7 separate regions of the Homo sapiens genome follow, and all the other regions are linked to region 3. The links are contacts of gene promoters, found by promoter capture Hi-C in blood cells and fetal thymus (Javierre and others, 2016). All regions are on one chromosome and are shown on one strand. Each heading gives the region's core, a stretch centred on a gene start or on the middle of the fragment in contact. The rest is flanking DNA. Distances are from core to core; before and after follow the strand shown. Region 1 overlaps VPS45 (vacuolar protein sorting 45 homolog). Region 2 overlaps CA14 (carbonic anhydrase 14). Region 3 holds the start of H2AC18 (H2A clustered histone 18). Region 4 overlaps VPS45 (vacuolar protein sorting 45 homolog). Region 5 overlaps PLEKHO1 (pleckstrin homology domain containing O1). Region 6 has its middle 23 kb from the start of LINC02988. Region 7 has its middle 25 kb from the start of ANP32E.

The links. Contacts are between HindIII fragments. The CHiCAGO score rates a contact against its expected background, and 5 or more counts as called.
Region 1: a contact is called between a fragment that was not itself captured here and the fragment with the promoter of H2AC18 in region 3, in 2 of 17 cell types (activated CD4 T cells and total CD4 T cells). The highest score is 5.4, in activated CD4 T cells.
Region 2: a fragment that was not itself captured here is called in contact with the fragment with the promoter of H2AC18 in region 3 in 1 of 17 cell types (M2 macrophages); the score reaches 5.2 in M2 macrophages.
Region 4: a fragment that was not itself captured here is called in contact with the fragment with the promoter of H2AC18 in region 3 in 7 of 17 cell types (M0 macrophages, M2 macrophages, M1 macrophages and 4 more); the score reaches 8.8 in M0 macrophages.
Region 5: a fragment that was not itself captured here is called in contact with the fragment with the promoter of H2AC18 in region 3 in 13 of 17 cell types (endothelial precursors, M1 macrophages, naive B cells and 10 more); the score reaches 11.6 in endothelial precursors.
Region 6: a fragment that was not itself captured here is called in contact with the fragment with the promoter of H2AC18 in region 3 in 17 of 17 cell types (neutrophils, total B cells, naive B cells and 14 more); the score reaches 13.9 in neutrophils.
Region 7: a contact is called between a fragment that was not itself captured here and the fragment with the promoter of H2AC18 in region 3, in 13 of 17 cell types (total B cells, naive CD8 T cells, monocytes and 10 more). The highest score is 7.7, in total B cells.

What each region holds. Positions count from the first base shown.
Region 1 is chr1:150,107,478-150,110,510 of GRCh38, reverse strand. It overlaps VPS45 (vacuolar protein sorting 45 homolog), which reads right to left. Exons shown (of 15, transcript NM_007259.5): 14 at 1-15. Among named protein-coding and RNA genes, the nearest start is that of PLEKHO1, 41 kb to the left of the region's middle. The HindIII fragment of the contact is 3,882 bases long and covers 1-3,033 here.
Region 2 is chr1:150,262,937-150,265,981 of GRCh38, reverse strand. It overlaps CA14 (carbonic anhydrase 14), which reads right to left. Exons shown (of 11, transcript NM_012113.3): 7 at 2,783-2,940; 8 at 2,563-2,683; 9 at 2,303-2,323; 10 at 2,104-2,188; 11 at 904-1,389. The coding sequence ends at 1,323. APH1A (aph-1A gamma-secretase subunit) reads left to right here. Exons shown (of 7, transcript NM_001077628.3): 7 at 1-578. Among named protein-coding and RNA genes, the nearest start is that of SNORD13C, 2.8 kb to the right of the region's middle. The HindIII fragment of the contact is 1,864 bases long and covers 771-2,634 here.
Region 3 is chr1:149,841,072-149,844,041 of GRCh38, reverse strand. It overlaps H2AC18 (H2A clustered histone 18), which reads left to right and starts at 1,292. Exons shown (of 1, transcript NM_003516.3): 1 at 1,292-1,824. The coding sequence starts at 1,344. The coding sequence ends at 1,736. H3C14 (H3 clustered histone 14) reads left to right here and starts at 2,834. Exons shown (of 1, transcript NM_021059.3): 1 at 2,834-2,970. The coding sequence starts at 2,885. It also overlaps the pseudogene H2BC19P. The HindIII fragment of the contact is 2,631 bases long and covers 7-2,637 here.
Region 4 is chr1:150,139,504-150,142,593 of GRCh38, reverse strand. All of the region lies in intron 14 of VPS45 (vacuolar protein sorting 45 homolog), which reads right to left. Among named protein-coding and RNA genes, the nearest start is that of PLEKHO1, 8.9 kb to the left of the region's middle. The HindIII fragment of the contact is 645 bases long and covers 1,054-1,698 here.
Region 5 is chr1:150,157,664-150,160,464 of GRCh38, reverse strand. It overlaps PLEKHO1 (pleckstrin homology domain containing O1), which reads right to left. Exons shown (of 6, transcript NM_016274.6): 6 at 400-1,646. The coding sequence ends at 942. Among named protein-coding and RNA genes, the nearest start is that of LINC02988, 1.7 kb to the left of the region's middle. RefSeq lists a silencer at 758-807 and an enhancer at 1,108-1,609. The HindIII fragment of the contact is 1,316 bases long and covers 879-2,194 here.
Region 6 is chr1:150,181,986-150,185,011 of GRCh38, reverse strand. No RefSeq gene overlaps it. Among named protein-coding and RNA genes, the nearest start is that of LINC02988, 23 kb to the right of the region's middle. The HindIII fragment of the contact is 8,966 bases long and covers 1-3,026 here.
Region 7 is chr1:150,209,243-150,212,356 of GRCh38, reverse strand. It overlaps the pseudogene RN7SL480P. Among named protein-coding and RNA genes, the nearest start is that of ANP32E, 25 kb to the left of the region's middle. The HindIII fragment of the contact is 5,688 bases long and covers 1-3,114 here.

The DNA of each region.
Region 1 (3,033 bases), core at 525-3,024, 270 kb before region 3:
ATGATATCCTGAGGTCTGCAATAATGAAGAATGAGATATTATCACAGGATAAGAAAAAAAAAGGACTGTGACTTACATACACAGAGTTTTAATTTCTAAATCTTTTTTTTTGGTGGAGGAAGCAGAATTAAAGCAGAATAGAATAAAAGGTTTAAAAAAAGTTTCAATTATCTGAAATTGGCAGGAAACAGAGCAGGAAATGCTGAATAGTGATTTGCTTTCTGTTTATGAGCGGATGTCTTATAATTTCTGTGCTGTGGATTTCAGAATAGCACAATAGTGTTTGCTGGAACCAAATGTAGAAATATTCTTTTATATTCAAGAGGGTGCAGAGTGCCTTACCATGACATGATATCAATACGGCAGAATTTTATGTTTGTATTAATACTACACATCTCCTTTCATGTATAAGCCTTTGTCAAATACTTAATACAGTGCTATTACAATGGCCTCTGTACAAGGACCTCAAAGCATTTTTGAAAGAACTAGCATATTTAGATGTCCCCAAAACATGGAAACTAGAAACATTTAGTATTTTGAGTATAAAAAAAAGAATGGGACACAAAAATTAATGGTGCTTCTAGGAACTCTATCTTTTCTTGAAATCTTTTTTCTGAATCCTTTGATAAACCAAGAAAAAGAAACCATGGAAACCAAAAAAACCATGAGTGTAGCTGATACTGGACATGCGAACACAGCTCAGTCACTAGCTTCACTTGGGTAGCACTGTGTTGTTTTACTCTGTTTCCTGTTTCAATCCGTATCAAAATGGCTTCATAACAAAAGTGAATGTTCCTATTAGCTCCTTCCTTAAATATCACCAAGAAGGAGATCAAATTATTTTCAAAACCATTACTAGGCAAATAATTTTGTTAAATCACTCATTGGACACTAAAACTACATCAATCAGAAGCATCCGTTTTGAATGTTATTGCACAAAACTAACCAGAAACATCTTTAATCAAGGAATATACATGCTTATGTATAAATCATGAAAAAAACCCCAACCCTACATTTCCTTCCTGCTTGTCTCTCTCTCTCTCTTTCTAAAATACCTTGAAAGAATTAACTGAGAGAGTATTTGTTCTTGTGGGACTTCACTGAAACAGAATCAGCTATTGTGGCTATTTTAAAATGTTCAGATAGTCTCTAAATTGCAGAGATTTCCCAGTAAAATTTATACAAGGGTGGGGATGATGGCTCATGCCTATATGCATTTTGGGAGGCCGAGGAAGGCGGATCACTTGAGGTCAGGAGTTTGAAACCAGCCTGGCCAACATGGTGAAACCCAGGCTCTACTAAAAATACAAAATTAGCTGGGCGTAGTGCTAGCTGCCCGTAATCCCAGCTACTCGGGAGGCTGAGGCAGGAGAATTGCTTGAATCTGGGAGGTGAAAGTTGCAGTGAGCCAAGATCGTGCCACCATACTCCAGCCTGGGCAACAGAGACTCCATCTCCAAAAACAAACAAACAAAAACACCCCAAAAAAACCTTCCCCCTAAAAACAGTTATACAAGCTACCAATGATGAAGAGGGTGTTATGGTAAAGTGTCAATTACGATAAGGGTCCCCAAACCCAGGCTGAGGACCAATACCAGTCCGTGGTCTGTTAGGAACTGGGCGGGGGCACAGCAGGAGGTGAGCAGTGAGTATTAGGGCCTGAGTTCTGCCTCCTCTTAGATCCGTGGAGGCGTTAGATTCTCATAGGAGTGCAAATCCTACTGTGAACTACGCATGGGAGGGATCTAGGTTGTGTGTTCCTTATGAAACTATTGCCTGATGATGGGTGAGGTAGAACAGTTTTATATTACTTGACTTATCAGCAACATATGACTGAGGTGATCACTTGCTCCTCCTGGATATACCTTCTTCAATTGGTTTCCAGAAAATTTCATATTTGATTTTTTCCCTTGCTACTTTTCAGTATCCTTTTATGGTCCCACTTCATCTCTGTGACCTCTTAATTGTGGAATACTCAGAGCCCAGACATTGATCCTCCTTTCTTCTTAATCTAAACTCATTCTCTCCATCTGTTCCATTCAGTATAGTGACCACTTGTCACTTATGGTTATTTAAATTTAAATTAACCAAAATAAAATTAAATATTTAATTCCCCAGTAGCACTAGCCACATTTCAAGTGCTCAACAGCTACACTGACAAGTGGTTACATTACTAGTTACCAGAGAAACAGCACATTTCCTTCCCTGGATAATCACACCATTTTTTGGTTGTAAATACATCTGCTGATGGTTCCCAAATCTCCATCTCCAGCCCAGACCTTTCTTCTAAACTCCAGACTTAAATACCTGTTTACTTGACATTTCCATTTGGATGTTTAATTATTTCTCAATTCAACACATTTTAAATCCCCAATCTTCCCTAAGTCTGTTCTACCTATAGCCTTCCCTATCTTACTTGATGGTCACTTTAGCCTTCTAGTTGCTTGGGCCAAAAACTTTGGACTCATCCTAACTCTTCCTTTGGAGCAGAAGTGAAGTTGGGGACATAGTGAGAAAAAGAGGGAAAAGCATAAGCCAGCTCACACACCTCAAATCTCACAGGTCATGGGGTTCTCACAGGTTACTATGATCAAATTTGCTTTTTTTTTGAGACGGAGTCTTGCTCTTGTCACCCAGGCTGGAGTGCAGTGGTGCAATGTCAGCTCACTGCAACCTCTGCCTCCTGGGTTCAAACGATTCTCCTGCCTCAGCCTCCTAAGTAGCTGGGAATACAGGCGTGCGCCACCATGCCAGACTACTTTTTGTATTTTTAATAGAGACGAGGTTTCACCATGTTGGCCAGGCAGGGGGTCTTGAACTCCTGACCTCAGGTGATCTGCCAGCCTTCGCCTCCCAAAGTGCTAGGATTACAGGTGTGAGCCACCATGCCCAGCCAAATTTGCTTTTTTGAAGGATAGTTTTGGCAGCTGTGCAAGAATGAATTGGGTGTAACTGTTGGGAAAAGTTGGAGAATAAAAGGCTAGTGTAAGACTTCTGGGAAGATATGATGAAACCTAGAACTAAAGACATCCC
Region 2 (3,045 bases), core at 453-2,952, 420 kb before region 3:
AGGATAGATGAGCTCTGAGTTTCTCAGTACTCCCTCAAGACTGGACATCTTGGTCTTTTTCTCAGGCCTGAGGGGGAACCATTTTTGGTGTGATAAATACCCTAAACTGCCTTTTTTTCTTTTTTGAGGTGGGGGGAGGGAGGAGGTATATTGGAACTCTTCTAACCTCCTTGGGCTATATTTTCTCTCCTCGAGTTGCTCCTCATGGCTGGGCTCATTTCGGTCCCTTTCTCCTTGGTCCCAGACCTTGGGGGAAAGGAAGGAAGTGCATGTTTGGGAACTGGCATTACTGGAACTAATGGTTTTAACCTCCTTAACCACCAGCATCCCTCCTCTCCCCAAGGTGAAGTGGAGGGTGCTGTGGTGAGCTGGCCACTCCAGAGCTGCAGTGCCACTGGAGGAGTCAGACTACCATGACATCGTAGGGAAGGAGGGGAGATTTTTTTGTAGTTTTTAATTGGGGTGTGGGAGGGGCGGGGAGGTTTTCTATAAACTGTATCATTTTCTGCTGAGGGTGGAGTGTCCCATCCTTTTAATCAAGGTGATTGTGATTTTGACTAATAAAAAAGAATTTGTAATTGTGGGGGAACTTGGCTTTTAAGGGAGGGGATAGCATGTTAATTGAGATTTCTGTCCTCAGATCTCTCATCCAGCCACTTTCCTAACCTGGCAACCACTGATTTCCAAGCATAGCCTTGGTGCAAGGGCAGAAATCTGGGCTAGTGGTTTAACATGTCTGAAACTTTGGGTTAAGTGTCTTCCCAGAAGCTTATCTTTCCTTCCAGGGGTGGGATAAAAGGAGTTAATCACCCATGCTTCTTTTCCCCATCCTTTGCCCATCTTTACCACCTGAGGGATTCAGGAACTTGCCCACCCTCAAGAGCCTCAAAGGATAGGCCAGAATTAAAGTCAGAAACTTTAATTTCCAAATATATTGATCAAAAATATACAACTTCAACAGCAACTCTTTATCCTAAGGAGAGATCCCGCAGTATATCTAGGGAAAGGGCCATAAAAGTGAGGGGGTAGAGGACTTTGGGGTATATCCCAAACTTCCCCTGCAACTAAACAGAGTTTGTTCTCTGCATTAACAACACAGCGATTTCCTCATTTCCTCCTACATGTTTGGAGAGGCTGAAGGCTCTGCAGTTCTTCCTGGAATGACAGCCTGGGTCCATTCCTCTCTAGGAGATGTCCAGGGGAAGGAGGACATCTGCTTACTACTCCTACAGTGTTTCTGGCCAGATCCTACACCCCATTTTAGAGGCTTCCTGATAGGCATGAAGGGAAGTCATCCACATCCATGGTATCTGAGAAGGAATTTATGCCTCAGTCGTGGCTTGTGCTGAGGTGAAGACCACACTCTTTCGGTTTTCCAGCCTCTTCTTCCTGGAAAGGGGAATGGCTCATGAGAATGACTGCTATCTAAGTGAAGCAGATTAGAGGTGAAATAGGAGAATGCTTTTTAACAGAAAAGAGGGCTGGGCAAGGTGTTTCACACCTATAATCCCAGCACTTTGGGAGGCTGAGGCGGGCGGATCACTTGAGGTCAGGAGTTGGAGACCAGCCTGGGCAATGTAGTGAAAACCCGTCTCTGCTAAAAATACAAAAATTATCTGGGCATGGTGGCACATGCCTGTAGTCCCACCTACTCAGGAGGCTGAGGTGGGAGGACCACTTGAGCCCGGGAGGTGGAGGTTGCAGTGAGCTGTGATAAAGCCATGCACTCCAGCCTCGACAACAGTGAGAACCTGTCTCAAAAAGCGGGTGGCTCATGCCTATAATCCCAGTACTTTGGGAGGCTGAGGCAGGCGAATTGCCTGAGGTCAGGAGTTTGAGACCAGCCTGGCCAATATGGTGAAACCTTGTCTCTACTAAAAGTACAAAAATTAGCTGGGTGTGATGGTGCGTGCCTGTAGTCCCAGCTACTCGGGAGGCTGAGGCAGGAGAATTGCTTGAACCCAGAAGGCAGAGGTTGCAGTGAGCTGAGATTGCACACCACTGCACTCCAGACTGAGTAACAGAGCAAGACTCCGTCTCCCACCTACCAAAAAAAAAAAAAAAAAGAAGAAGGGACTGGAGGAATGGAAAGTAGGGCCTCACCGAATCTTTCTAGCAATGAAATAAACAGCCAGGAGAAGGCAGAGACAGCCAACCAAGATTCCTACACCTAGACTCAGCATTTCACCTGGGGGAGATAAAGGTAAAAGGTGTCAGCCTAGGACTAACATAGATTTTGAGCCTTTCCCCCACTCGGTGAGGACACCTCCCCTCCCCGCATTATCTTATAAGGCTGGCTTACCTGTGGTATACGAGGATCCTGCTGTAAGAGAAGAAAATGGGTCAGTGGGACTTCAGATCCCCATCCCAGCTGGGAGCAGCACTCTCTGCTGCTGTGCCTGGGAGAATCCCCCGGGGGCACCCTGGGGTGGGGGTTGGTTCCCAGTCCAAGCAAGTCCCAGAAACCCCCTCCCCTTTTAGCCTTTTCTTCCCATTGGCTCCCTAGTTCCTGCCATTGTGTCCCCCTCAGTTTCCCATCTCTTCTGAGCCGTGCAGAATCACCTTGGATGAAAGAAGCAAAGACCATGCGCTGATTGAGAGGCTGAAGGGCTCGGTAGTTCTGTACCAGAAGCTTAGAGGGCTCCTCTTCTGTGGAGAACAATGTCCCCTGAAGCTTTTCCAGCTGAGGAGCAGAAGCGTGGGAGAGGTGTTACTTTGGGGAGTGGGAAGGGGTCTGAAGTTACAACTGTGTCTCACCTCACCTCGTTTCTCCACCACTTACCTGTTCCATTGAAATCTGGGACCTTCTATAAAAAACTGTCCAGAGCACACTCTGGTAGCAAGGGGGAGTTGTGAGCGAGCCATTGTAGCGGAAGTACTGCCCCAGCTGTTTGGGGAGCAGCTCTCTTAGGTTGAAGGGAGGCACTGAGGTCTTCTGATCTGGGGAGAACAGACTGGGACTCATCTTCCTTTCAGTGTGCCCTAGCTTACCTAGATAGGGCTCCCAGAAGCAAAATTCCTTGGCTCTATGTAATTGCTTCATCC
Region 3 (2,970 bases), core at 43-2,542:
AAAGCTTTACTATCCATGACAGCAGCCTTTGCATTACTCAATTCTGATGGCATTTAACGTCTTGAAACCCAGAAATAAATACCTATAGACTCACAGTACCTGAAAGGAATACCAAATTGAGACAAGAGAGCTATATAAACCAAAAATTGCTTCAACCACAGAATGGAGGTCTACAGGTGCGGAAGGAAAGTTTATATGGTGAGGCTTGGTCGCAAAACTATTAGGAATATTTTCAGGTTACTACACAATTTTGCGAGCTCAATATGCAGTTAACACTTTTTCCCTTGACTCTCCTGAGCAGATTTACATTGACCGCACCCGTAGCATATCGTCTCACTTTGGAAAAGGCAAATTATGTGCACATGACCCTGTCACTACAAGGTAGTTCTCGACCAAGCTACATCTTATAGCTTTATCTTATATTCCTCTCCCATCATCTGCAGGAAAAGGGATAGGTGCTGAGGGAAAACCCCTAAGTAGAACTCACAGTAAGCAGTGGGAAAACAGCTTATTTCACTAACGGGGTTAAGTGGCCCTGAAAAGAGCCTTTGGAGACAAAGCAGCCGGCGACCCGCGGAGGGAGGGAGGGAGGGAGCGAGCGAGCGCCAGGTCCCGGCAGGGACTCACTTGGAGCTGGCGTACTTGGTGACCGCCTTGGTGCCCTCGGACACGGCGTGCTTGGCCAGCTCGCCGGGCAGCAGCAGGCGCACGGCCGTCTGGATCTCCGGGACGTGATGGTGGAGCGCTTGTTGTAGTGCGCCAGGCGGGACGCCTCTCCCGCGATGCGCTCGAAGATGTCGTTGAGGAAGGAGTTCATGATGCCCATGGCCTTGCACCAGATGCCGGTGTCGGGGTGGACCCGCTTCAGCACCTTGTACACGTAGATGGAGTAGCTCTCCTTGCGGCTGCGCTTGCGCTTCTTGCCGTCTTTCTTCTGGGCTTTGGTGACGGCTTTCTTGGAGCCCTTCTTGGGAGCCGGCGCGAACTTTGCAGGCTCAGGCATGGCCAGACCCAAGACCGACACCGACCCCCGAGAACGCAAGCAGAGCGGTAGGCTCGGGGTCTACCGGAAACGACTGTGTACTTACAGAGGCTGTGCGCATGACGCTGCGTTATGGTTCGCGAGTTTTCCGCGGCGCGCAATGCGAGGGAGACGAGATTATGTAAATGAGTGGATTCTGGCTGAGCTATCCTATTGGCTATCGGGACAAAATTTGCTTGAGCCAATCAAAGTGCTCCGTGGACAATCGCCGTTCTGTCTATAAAAAGGTGAAGCAGCGGCGTTTTCGGCGACTTTCCCGATCGCCAGGCAGGAGTTTCTCTCGGTGACTACTATCGCTGTCATGTCTGGTCGTGGCAAGCAAGGAGGCAAGGCCCGCGCCAAGGCCAAGTCGCGCTCGTCCCGCGCTGGCCTTCAGTTCCCGGTAGGGCGAGTGCATCGCTTGCTGCGCAAAGGCAACTACGCGGAGCGAGTGGGGGCCGGCGCGCCCGTCTACATGGCTGCGGTCCTCGAGTATCTGACCGCCGAGATCCTGGAGCTGGCGGGCAACGCGGCTCGGGACAACAAGAAGACGCGCATCATCCCTCGTCACCTCCAGCTGGCCATCCGCAACGACGAGGAACTGAACAAGCTGCTGGGCAAAGTCACCATCGCCCAGGGCGGCGTCTTGCCTAACATCCAGGCCGTACTGCTCCCTAAGAAGACGGAGAGTCACCACAAGGCAAAGGGCAAGTGAGGCTGACGTCCGGCCCAAGTGGGCCCAGCCCGGCCCGCGTCTCGAAGGGGCACCTGTGAACTCAAAAGGCTCTTTTCAGAGCCACCCACGTTTTCAAATAAAAGAGTTGTTAATGCTGGCCACTCTCAGTCCAGCGTTCCTCAGTAGTGAATAGCGAACCTGGAGCTGACGGGACGGGACGGGACGGGACGGGACGGGACGGGGCGGGGCGGGGCGGGGTGTGTGTGTGTGCGCGCCGTCTTCCATCTGGAGCACGTAACTGCCTTGGCTCTTCGATGAGTGGGTCCCCAGTCCTAGGACTTCCCAGGGCAGGTGCAGGCACCAAACGTCCTGGGCGCCGCCACGGTCCGCTCCACACAGTCACAAACACCAGCGCCGCGGGCAGTACCCAACGCGCTGAAGTGTTGCGCGCGGAGCGCGCGCTTCCCTAGTGGTTTCCGCAGGCTATGGCCGGACACTTAGACCTAGTCTGGCACCAGCGGGACGTGCTCCTCGTCCCCACCCCCGATGGGGAGGGCCCTGAGCGGGTAGTGCTCGCTAGTGTGGCGGAGCTGGGTCTTGGCTTCACTGAGCTGACTTAAGTCTTAGTTTCTGTTTTGTTTTCCAAAGCGCCCTGGCGGCGGAGAGTAAGGGCCTCGGAGGCGGAATCTTGCGTCCTGGGGGCGGGCACCTCTCCCACCCAAAAGGCACCCGACAGGCGAAAAACGATCCGCCAAGTAGCAACTGGGGGCGGGGGGCAAATGGAAGAATGAGGTTCCACGCGGGAGCTGTAGGGCGCAGCAAGAAAGGGGGGGTATTGCGGGCAGTGTGTTCTAAGGAAGCGAAGGGCGGAAAGGGAACAATCTGACAAAGCTGCAATGGAAAATGACTTTCACCCTGAAGGAAAGGGGAAAAACAAGCTTGCGAAACTTCGCCAACTGGTAAGTAGAAAGTGAGGCGGGGTGGGCGGGATTAGGGAGGAATCTGCCCAAGCCAACCGGTGACTTTAGGACGGGTGACGTCACAGCCAATGGACAGCCAGCGCGGGATTTTCAATTATTGTTCCGCCCAATCGGGAAAAGACTGTGCTTATAAAGACGGCTGCGGCGGGGCTAGGAGCTCGTTTTTCTCCCCGCCGCTGCGCTGGTAAGCCTGTGTTTTGGTTCGCTATGGCCCGTACTAAGCAGACTGCTCGCAAGTCGACCGGCGGCAAGGCCCCGAGGAAGCAGCTGGCCACCAAGGCGGCCCGCAAGAG
Region 4 (3,090 bases), core at 127-2,626, 300 kb before region 3:
GGAATGACCAGTTATTACCATTGTTTTGCAGTTTTATTACCATCTTGCATTGAAAGATTCTGGGCTTGGAGAATTTAAATTCCAAACTCCTTTGCAAAAGAAAAAATTGCAAAGTAGAGGGAAAGGAGTAGAAGCTAAGTTCATTTGTTCCTCTATGGAAATACAGACATCTTTGGCCTGGCTTTTTGGCCAGTTGGACTAGACACAATTGGAGGTCAGAAAACAAGTGTTAGGAAATGAGGTAGCACTGATTTTTTTTTGAACAATAACACAATAAGTCTTGATGACTTCTAGAAAGAATGAAATAAATGTGCTGGGAAGCCCTATAGGAATTTTATCAGGGGATCTTTGGTTCATTTCCAACTCTGCTACAAAGGGAAGAAATAAAGATCCTCCTCTGTATATCAACAAGACCCCACATTCCTGACTATAATGAGAACACACTTACTATTTATATTTACCAGCCTAATTTTGTTTCCTAGGGCCACTATGACTTAAAAAAAAACTATTTGGGGACTCTAATGAGTCATTGCTCAGAATGCTTAAAAAATTATGGCGAATGAACATATTGCTAGCTGTACCCCAAATTTAGACTATGTTTAAAAACAAAACAAAAAGAATAATTTTTCTTTCTAAATTCATTTTAAATCAATCTCACTTAAAAGCAAACTCAAAAATCCCCTTCTCCGTTGGTGCCATAGTCCAGTTCAATTCAGTTCAATTCAATCCAATTCAACAAATGTTTAATGAGCATCCATTATGAACTAGGTGTTGAACTAGGTGTACAAATGTACACCTTAGTTATGATTCCTACCTTAAGGGACTCTCAGAGACAGATACACAATCACAATCCAATATGAGTATAAACAGAGGCAGTGCCAGAAACTAACAGAGTGGATTAATGCTACTGCTTTTTTTAGTTTGTGCTGTCATCAAGGGTGTTTTCCTGACTCCATGTATAGAAGGAAGGTGGGTGGAAAAAAGCAGAACCCCAACCCTGATTTTAAAAAGTCAACCTTGAGAAGTCTTGAGTCACACACTGAAAAGCAAGCTTCTCCACTTACATCACTGGTAAGGGACTAGAGACCAATGTTTATAGGATTAAAAATATTAATTACTAAAATAATTCAGCTGAACAACTGTGTTTCTATTCCTAAACAAAGCTATCATACTGTAACAAAAACTATGTGTGTGTATGTGTATATAATTTAAGGATATGTCTTCCTCCTTTTTCACTATACTCCACAGGTAAAAATTACATGTGAATTTCTTATACCAAAGACACCAAGGGGAATCTAGAACCTGAATAGTGTTATAATAATTAAAAAAATAGAACTTGTGGGGAGCAGAAAAATAGAAAAAGACTTTCAGGAAAATAATGAGAAAAACCCCAAGATATTTGTCTTAATGGAGTAATAAGCTCCTAATTACAGCCAAACACTTACTTGGAGAAGTTAGGAGTATGGGAGTGGGTAAGGCAGAAGGATAAGATGAAATTATTAATAGCTTAAAACACTGAAAATGCTCCTCACCTCTCAACTTCCACGGCTTGCAGTTTTCAGAGCCACTGCTATGTTTCATACTTCTTTGCTTTTGCACCTGCTATTCAAAGGCTGTCCCATCCATCTCACACTTTGTTTGGTGGAACTATGCATCTTTAAAAACCCAACTCTCACATTATTACTCCTCTAGGAAGCTTTCCTCAACTGCATTGCTTTCCCCTTAGAGTTACGTACTCATTCTTCCATATCTTGTAAATATACTGTGTTGTAATTTATTTGTCTGTATGTCCATTTTCCATGCAAGCTTATGAAGCTTTTAGGGGCACAAGGATACATGAGTACATTCTCTTTGTAAAAGTTCTAAACATATACCTTGTCTTCCTTGACCCTCCTTATCCTCATCACTCCAGAAATAACATAATTTGATCAACAAATATTTACTGAGTGTCTACTATGTGCTAGGCACTGTTCTAGAAGCTGTGAATACAGCAATGAAGAAAGTAAAAAAAAACCCCTCTGCTCTCATGGAATTTATATTCCAATGGGAGAGAAGGAAAATAAAATTAATTAGTAGTTAATAATAATAATACAATAATAATGGTGTACACATATTACTATATGCAAAGTACTGCTCTAATGGACAGAAACCATTCCACTTTAAATACACACACACACACACACACACACACACACACACACACACACCAGAAGTGATGGAATTGGGATATAATCCCAGGCAATCTGGCTTCAGTTTGTCTTCTTAACTATAATGCTATACTGCCTCTTTGTAATATGTTAGATGAAGAAATACTATGGGAAAAGATAAAGCAGGTTTAAAAAAGGAGTATTGGAGATGGTAGTGGTGTGAGATTTTAAAACTAGTGACTGGGCTGGGTGCGGTGGCTCACGCCTGTAATCCCAGCACTTTGGGAGGCCAAGGCGGGAGGATCACTTGAGGTCACTTGAGGTCACGAGTTTCAGATCAGCTTGACCAACATGGTGAAACCCTGTCTCTACTAAAAATACAAAAATTAGCCAGGCGTGGTGGTGCATGCCTGTAATCTCAGCTACTTGGGAGGCTGAGGCACAAGAATCGTTTGAACCTGGGAGGCGGAGGTTACAGTGAGCTGAGATTGCACCACAGCACTCCAGGCTGGGCACCAAAGCAAGACTCCATCTCAAAACAACAACAACAACAACAACAAAAATAAAATAAAACTAGTGACTGGCTGCCCATGGTGGCTCACGCCTATAATCCCAGAACTCTGGTAGGCCGAAACAGGAGGATATTTTTAATCCTATTGCTTGAGTCCAGGAGTTCAAGACCAGCCTGGACAACATAGCAAGACCCTCTACAAAAAATTTTAAAAATTAGCCAAGCATTGTGGTGCACACCTGTAGTCCCAGCTCCTCAGGAAGCTGAGGTGGAAAGATCACTTGAGCATGAGCCCAGGATTTAGAGACTGCAGTGAGCTATGATCATCCCATTGCACCCCAGCATGGGTGACAGAGTGAGACTCTGTCTCAAAAAAAAGAGAGTTCATCAATGTTAGGTAATAGCTTTTCTTGAAGAGGAATAAAATGCTAC
Region 5 (2,801 bases), core at 287-2,786, 320 kb before region 3:
GAGTTTCGCTCTTGTTGCCCAGGCTGGAGTGCAATGGCACAATCTTGGCTTGCTGCAACCTCTGCCTCCCAGGTTCAAGTGATTCTCCTGCCTCAGCCTCCCGCATAGCTGGGATTACAGGCGCCCACCACCATGCCTGGCTAATTTTTTGTATTTTCGGTAGAGACTGGGTTTCATCATGTCGGTCAGGCTGGTCTCAAACTTCTGACCTCAGGTGATCCACCCGCCTTGGCCTCCCAAAGTGCTGGGATTACAGGCGTGAGCCACTGCGCCCGACAAGGGTGGATCTTTGAGTCAAGGTTGGGAAGGGTGTGGAAGATGAAGGGAAGAAACACCTCATGTAAGAAAATCCAGGCAGCTCGATCTCAATGAGAGACTGCTAGGAATGAGAAGCCAGTGTCTGGCTGGGGAGATTTTAATTCCACAAATCCTCCTCAGGGCTGGGATAAATTTCACTTCCATGTGCACGGACAGGTGACACTGGCCTCCACATCCCTACAACTAGAGTTGGGCAGCTGAAACTTCACCCTCAAACTGAAGGCCTGGGGTGGGACATAACAGAAAACATCCTCATCCCCCTCCCGCTCTAAGCTTAGAAGCCCACTGTATCCTTGGGAGCAGCAGTGGACTCCCTGTGCCGTCTTGGGGGCGGGCGGTGTGTGGAGTGGTCAGACTGTGTCTTTACCGTGCCTTCTCTCTCTCTGGCTGGGTAAAAACTTCCTGCTACTGCTGCGGGGTCACTTCCTCAAACCTGAGGGGCATACGAGGGGCATATGGAAAGTAGGTGGGGCAATAAGGGTTGTAGTGGGGTCAGGCATCAGCAAGAGCAATGAGTTCATTTTTGTTTTCTTTTTTTGATTGAGGTAAATAAAAAAGCTTTATCCAGCAACACGGAGATAAGAGTCTGTCCAACCCGACAAGTTCCAGACCCCACCCTGCCCTCACATCAGGCTCTTCCGGTACTGACTGTGCGGGGTGGTCTGTCTGAGGTGGGAGTCCGGGGTCTGCAGGTCCATCTGTCTGTACAGGTCTCTCAGCTCCCTGACCTCCTGCAGCACCCTCTTTGCCTGGCTCCAATTCGATGATGCCTCTCCCAGCAGCCGTTCCGTCTCCAGCAGCAGCTGCTCTGACTCAGAATCCGGCGGAGACCGAGGGGGGTCCTTGGCCTTTCGCTTCCCATCTCCCAGTCCCTGAACCTCTGCCAGAAGCTCCTGAGTCTCCTCCAGTTTCCTTGCTACCAGGTCCTGGATCCGGGACAGCTGCCCCGGGTTGGGGAGGGCAGGGGTTGGGGGTTCCTCAGCCCGCAGCTGGAGGGTGCGGGCAGAGGCAGCATCCCGCTGAGATAGGATCTCCTCCAGGGAGGCGCAGCGGCCTTTCTCTGTGGGCGTCAACTTCTTGGGTGCCTGGGGGGTGTAGGTGGCCCCTTTGTCTGTTTTTTCCCAAGGTCGGGAGAGACTGCTTGCCCGGTCTGCGGAGGGCTGGATGCGGTCTGAGTCCGCTCTCCGCCGGCTCCCTGCCAGCTGGGCCACAGACTTGTCCAGGTCAACCCGAAAGCTCTCAGCACAAGAGGTTGGTTCCTCAGGGGAAGGGTCTTCCTCTTGGATCAAGTCCAAGGTCAGCATCCCATCCGAGGTAGAGGTGGAAGCCTGTGGAGGAAGGGGGGAATGAGTGGGGAACCTGTCATCAGGAGGGATTTTCGGAATGACTGCCTAAAAGATGCAAGCTGTGGTCATTTTCCTCTACAAGCCTTCCTTGAATGAGAAGTACTTTTTTTTAGAGACAGAGTCTTGCTCTGTCACCCAGGCTGGAGTGCAGTGGCACGATTTGAGCTCACTGCAAGCTCCGCCTCCCGGGTTCACGCCATTCTCCTGCCTCAGCCTCCCGAGTAGCTGGGATTACATGCGTGCACCACCACGCCCAGCTCTTTTTTTTTGTATTTTTAGCAGAGGCAGGGTTTCACCATGTTGGCCATGGCTGGTCTCAAACTCCTGACCTCAAGTGATACACCGTCTCAGCCTCCCAAAGTACTGGGATTACAGGTGTGAGCCCCCCTGCCTGGCAAAGCCCTCTGCTCTTGACTGAACCCTCCTACTGAATGTGCTGTTTCTTATTCCTTTGATAGTGACTTGAATGTTTCTTCTTCTGTGATTTAGTTTGTTACTTGTTTCCTGTATTCTCCACTCTACCATAAGCTTCCTGAGGGGCGCCCTCTTCCTTGGTATTGTGGACTCTCAGCAATTAAACTGCATCTGATGCACACAGGATGCTCCCCATGGCACGACTGTCCTCCTCCATCTGCATCCTCTGAGTCCCACACTTCAGCCCCCTTGCCTTATAATAAAATTTGTTCTCTTATTTCCAGAATACTAAAAATGATGAGTATTCAATACCAAATATGTTGTTTTAGTCATTCCTCACAGCAGCCCTTCAAGGCAGGCATGATTACTGCCTCATTTTACAGTTGGAGACATGCAACTTCAGGGAACCACACAGGTAGCTGATTACAGTGAGGTTCCAACTCAGGTTCTAACTCCAAAGCCTGTGTTCTCTGCATTATACCTGCCTGCCTCTCTCTCTGAAGACTTAAGAGCTCAGAGGCATGAAAGAAACTAGCACGTTGTATGTTTCAGGAGTTCATTGTGATCCTTTCTCCTCCAAACACCCGCGGTACTACATGTTGTTACCCATCAAGACAGCCACCATACAGTAGCTAATTTTTCATTTTCCTGTGGGTATAACTCATTTTCTCCGAAAGAGGGTAACATTACTGGGAGCTGGGACTTTTGAACTCCTAATGGGCG
Region 6 (3,026 bases), core at 178-2,677, 340 kb before region 3:
TCATGTGTAGTTGAGTTATGTGTATGTAAGAGTTCTTTTTGTCTGTTTGTTTTTAAGACAGAGTCTTGCTCTGTCACCCAGGGTGGAATGCAGTGGCACGACTTCGGCTCACTGCAACATCTGCCTCCTGGGTTCAAGCGGTTTTCGTGCCTCAGCCTCCCAAGTAGCTGGGACCACGGATGCGCGACACCACACTCAGTTAATTTTTGTATTTTTAGTAGAGACAGGGTTTCACTGTGTTGGCCAGGCTGGTCTTGAACTCCTGGCCTCATGTGATCTGCCCACCTTGGCCTCCCAAAGTGCTGGGATTATAAGCGCGAGCCACTGTGCCTGGCCTGTAAGAGTTCTTTAGAGCAGGGATTGGCAAACCATGGTCTGGCCCGTGGACCCTCCACCTTTTTTTTGTATGACCCAGACACTAAGGTGGTTTTTACATTTCTGAATGGTTTTTAAAAATGGAAAGACTAATATTTTATGACACATGAAAATTCAAGTTTCAGTGTCCATAAGTAAAGTTTTATTGGAACAGCCATGCTCATGCATTTATATATTACCTAAGGCCGTTTTCAGGCCTAGTGAGTGGTTGTAACAGAGACTGGATGGCGTGCAAAGCCTAAAATATCTGGTATCTAATTCTATGCAGAAAATGTTTGCTGATTACTGCTCTAGTGTGTACGTGGAATGAAATTGCTGGGTTCCACATATTCATTTTTTGCTGTCTTATCAATTAGATCTATTTTTTAAAAATGCAAAACTCTATAATCTGTGCATCAGATTATGTTTTCTAAAACCCTTTTTTCTTTCCTTTTTTTTTTTAATGAGGCCTCACTATGTTGCCTGGGGTGGATACAAATTCCTGGGCTTAAGCTATCCTTCTGCCTCAGCCTCCCGAGTAGCTAGGACAACAGGCATGTGCCAGCCTGCCCAGCCTTTCTGAAGCTCTTAAACAAACATAAAAAGAACTCTCTGGATCTTATGTTTTCATTTTGTTTAAGTAATGAGCTTTAAATACATCCTTGTATAGCTTCCTTTCCTCTCACTTCAGTGGTCCTGATTGTTGTAGTGGTAAGGAATACCAATTAGGTTTATCTTTCTTTGGAGTGGAGAAAAGACTAGGAAAATAACAGACTCGTATAATTTTTGAACTTCAAGATCTTTTTTTTTTTTCAGACGGAGTTCTGCTCTTGTTGCCCAAGCCAGAGTGCCATGGCGCAATCTCAGCTCATTGCAACCTCCGCCTCCCAGGTTCAAGGAATTCTCCTGCCTCAGCCTCCCGAGTAGCTGGGATTACAGGCGTGCGCCAAACACGCCTGGCTAATTTTTTGTGTTTTTAGTAGAGATGGGGTTTTACCATGTTAGCCAGGCTGGTCTCGAACTCCTGACCTCAGATGATTCGCCCGCCTCGGCCTCCCAACATGCTGGGATTACAGACATGAGCCACTGCTCGGCCCAAGATCTCTTTTAAATACCCAAGAATAAGTCAGCTAAAAAACACAAGTGTTGGTCACTGGCTTTTATCGGTCACTGGCTTTTCTGCCCTCTACTAGAATATAGAGTCCATAAAGACAGCAATTTTTGTCTACTTTTGTTTTTACTTGTAAAAATGCCTAGCATGTCGTAGATGCTCAAGGAATATTTATTAGTTGAATGAATATGAAGAACTCCATTCATCTGGATGAAAACTTGAAATTCACTGAACTATTTGGACATAATACATTAATATTTAACAATACTGTATTTGGAATTATGGAAGGCACTTCCTGTTTTCTTCTTCTTCTTTTTTTTTTTTTGTGAGACTGAGTTTCACTCTTGTTACCCAGGCTGGAGTGCAGGCTCAGTCTTGGATCACTGCAACCTCTGTCTCCTGGGTTCAAGCGATTCTCCTGCCTCAGCTCCCGAGTAGCTGAGATTACAGGTGTGCACCACCATGCCTGGCTAATTTTTTGTATTTTTAGTAGAGATGGGGTTTCACCATCTTGGCCAGGCTGATCTTGAACTCCTGACCTCGTGATCTGCCTGCCTTGGCCTCCCAAAATGCTGGGATTATAAGCATGAGCCACTGTGCCCGGCTAAAAAGATTTTTAAAAAATTACTTTATTGAGGTAAAATTCACATGTGAAAATATTTCTATTTTTACATTTTGGAAGGCTGTATTATTTGATTGGGAAAAGATAGATGGGCTGTGCACATTTATTTTTTGTTTTTAAATTTTTTTGTTACTCCACACCCTGAAGAGTCCCTTATTGTTGATTCCCAGGGTTGAGGACTGAGTTTTTTTTTTTTTAATTAGTACTGGTTTCTATGGGATGCAAACTTTTCTCTAATAGCTGAAAGCAGAGGCTTCTGGGTGCTTTCAAATTTATTCTTTCTTCACGGTTTTAAAAGAGGCCCTTGCCTCTTCTGTGTGTCGTTATGCGTACTGGAGTGCAGAATAGAAAATGCAAAACAAGAGAGCCGTACAGGAGGTTTTTCTTTTTAAAGGAGTTGATAGACAAATGGCACAGAGTTCACTGTTCTCGCCAGCTGAGAGTTTAGCTTCCAGAAAGCACTACTTTAGGGAACAAGTGAAGCAGTGTGGAGGGCCTGAAAGGCTTCATTGACACAGCAGCCGGGAGGCTCTTGTAGCACATTGTCTGGGGTGCGGTGCCTTCGGAAACCAGCTCTCGAGATGTCTACACCCCCAACATCCCCAACGCTGAAAACATTCGGGTTTTTTTTTTTGGTTGTTTTTGCCATTATACTTGGTTTTCCAAGTGAGATTCCTGAAAAGGTATTTGCTTTTATTTGTTTTTGTTTATTAGTTTCCTCTGGGTGTCAGTCAGTTCTTCACATGGTCACTTGGCTTACTTGGTAGGAACGTGGGGGATCTGGGTGGTGGGGCCGAGGCAGTTTCCCCAACAAATCACTGGTACGGCATGAATGCGTTTGTTTTCTGAATGAGAATCTAAGTGCTGCCACAAAAAAGGCATGCTGGGGTAGAAGAAATAAGGTGAATTTGAAGCCGACAATTGAAATCATTATTGATA
Region 7 (3,114 bases), core at 478-2,977, 370 kb before region 3:
TTTGTGTGTGTGACAGAGTCTCGCTCTGTTGCCAGGCTGGAGTGCAGTAGCACGATTTCGGCTCATTGCAACCTCCGCCTCCTGAGTTCAAGCGATTCTCCTGCCTCAGCCTCCAGAGTAGCTGGGACTACAGGCGCGCGCCAACACATGGTGAAACCCCATCTCTATTAAACATACAAAAATTATACGTTTTATTGGCATCAGTCACTTTTCAGAGAATATTTGCTTCACTTTTTCTTGTGCAACCAAAAGATGTCTTTGATCCTATGGAAGGAGAAGAGAATAATTAAATTTGAAATCTTGTATACACAATTTTTATTAAAATGTCAAAGGACAGTTACATGTTTCTATAGAATTAGCATATGTATATATATACGCTCTATCTATCTATCTATCTATCTATCTATCTATCTATCTATCTATCTATCTAGAGAGACAGGGTCTGTTACCCAGGGTGGAGTGCAGTGGCTATTCACAAGCACGATCCTGCTACTGATCCGCACGGGAGTTTTGACCTGCTCTATTTCTGACCTTGGCCAGTTTACCCCTCCCCTTAGGCAACCTCGTGGTCCCCTGTTCCTGGGAGGTCACCATATTGGTGCCGAACTTAGTGCGGACACGCGATCGGTATAGCACACTACAGCCCAGAACTCCTGGGCTCAAGCCGTCTCCTGCCTCAGCCTCCCAAGTAGCTGGGACTACAGGCACGGGACACCGCGCCTGGCAAAGTTAACAAATATTTAACTGCAGTAAAACTAATGTCAGTAGTTTCTCAGGCATTTTCATTGGCTTTTACAAAGTCACAAAATTGGGTAAAATGAGGGCCATTTACTTTATTTAAAAAAAAGAGGCCGAGCGCTGTGGCTCACGCCTGTAATCCCAACACTTTGGGACGCCGAGGCAGGTGGATCACAAGGTCAGGAGTTGGAGAGCAGCCTGGCCAATATGGTGAAACCTCGTCTCTACTAAAAAATACAAAAATTAGCCGGGCATGGTGGCACGTGCCTGTAATCCCAGCTACTCAGGAGGCTGAGGCAGGAGAATCGCTTGAACCTGGGAGGTGGAGCTTGCAGTGAGCCAAGATCGCGCCACTGCACTCTGGCCTGGGCAACAGAGTGAGACTCTGTCTCAAAAAAAGAAAAAAAAAAAAAAAAGAGATGAGAATATTCTTGGATTTTAAGAAGCCAAGATTTTCTAGTGGGTAATAGCATTTCTCAGAAAAGACTTTTTCTTTTAACAGACTAAATATTTAGGAAAACTTTTTTTCTTATATTGAGGGATTGTATTTTCAGCATTGTTTCGATGTTGCCGCAATATTTTAAAAAATACTTATTAGCAGGTGGAGATGATGTGAATTTGTTGTTTACAACCCGTAGGATATTGAAGAGCTACCTGCTGAGAGAGGAGCTGCTACCATCTGGTCTCTGCTATGAGGCCAAAGCACTACATTGGTCCCATGATAAACCTACTTTTCTTTTTGTGTCATTTATTTTCCTTTCCACTGCTATTCTATATCAGCCTTGAGGTTGCTATTGGAGTTGAGGGACAAATAAGAGGTCATATAATGTAGGCCATCGCATAATGATGAAACATCAATTCTGTGGTCTGTCTCTAAGGCTCTGTCCTTGATAATAAAATACAGTGTGCTGTAATGGTTATCAAGTTTCCACTCCATATTATTAGGTTATTAGCTATTAATTAGATATCACTTGCCATTTTTACTTTACATGACTGTAAATAACTGCTGTCTTTCAGATCTTCATGTACTCAATCTTTACAAGCGGTTTGCAATTAACATATTAAGAAAAAAACCATGGAGAATTATGTGCAAATCCTTTTCAAGGCAAGCAGTCTTACAGCTATGATCAAAGGCATAAAATGTAGAATATTTAACAAACTTTTAAAATCCTTTGTTTAAGGAACATAAGTGATAGGAAAACAAATATGAATGATACCAACTCTATCCCTTGAAAAACAGCCTAAACCCAAGATTATAAACCAAGAGCGAAATTGCAGGCAGAGAAATGGCTGAGCTGACAGCTTGTGCCCAGAAAGCTCAGAAGATGCCAAAACTTTGATTTGCTCACTTCAGTGAAGGCGTGATCCTTCATTTTGCAGGGCTATAGAAGGAGATGTATTTGAGTTTGTAAATACAAAATCGATCAATATGTGAGGGACAGACTTGTGCCGTGAAAATTCACCAAAGTCAGATTTCTAAATCAAGTTGTCAATTTATTAATTTACAGGGAGAATGTATATTTACATTGTTTATGGTATTATTGTTCAGTGTTCTAAATTGGCGCTCTTTAATAGACATATAATTCTGTCAAAAATGCAAGTTGGTGGAGTGCGGTGGCTCTCACCTATAATCCCAGCACTTTGGGAGGCCAAGGCGGGTGGATCACCTGAGGTCAGGAGTTGGAGACCAGCCTGGCCAACATGGTGAAACCCTGTCTCTACTAAAAACACAAAAATTAGCCAGGCATGGTGGTGGGTGTCTGTAATCCCAGTTACTCGGGAGGCTGAGGTAGGAGAATTGTTTGTGCCTGGGAGGCAGAGGCTGCAGTAAGCCAAGATCGAGCCACTCTACTCCAGCCTGGGTGACAGAATGAGACTCTGTCTCAAGAAATAAATAAATAAATAAAATAAAAATGCAAGTCACAGATGTATTTAGAATTTTCTAGTAGACATATTTAAAAAACTAAAAAGAAACAGGTAAAATTAATTTTAATGTATTTTAATTAACCCAACATATTCAAAATATTATACTTTCTACATGTAATCAATGTAAAAAATCATTAGTAAGATGTTTTGTATTTTTTTCATGCAAAGTCTTCCAAATCTGGGATGGATTTTATGCTTACAGCAAATCTCAATTCAGATAGCCACTTTTCTTTCTTTCTTTTTTTTTTTAACAGAGTTTTATTTTTATTTAGTTACTTTCTTCTTCTTTTTTTTCTTTTTATAAAGATAGGATCTCACCATGTTGCCCAGGCTGGTCTCAAACTCCTGGGCTCAAGTGATCCTCCCTCCTTGGCCTCCCAAAGTGCCTGGATTAGCCACATTTCAAGTGCAGTAGTCATGTTGCTAGGTGAAGGTCTCGTGTATCCCTTC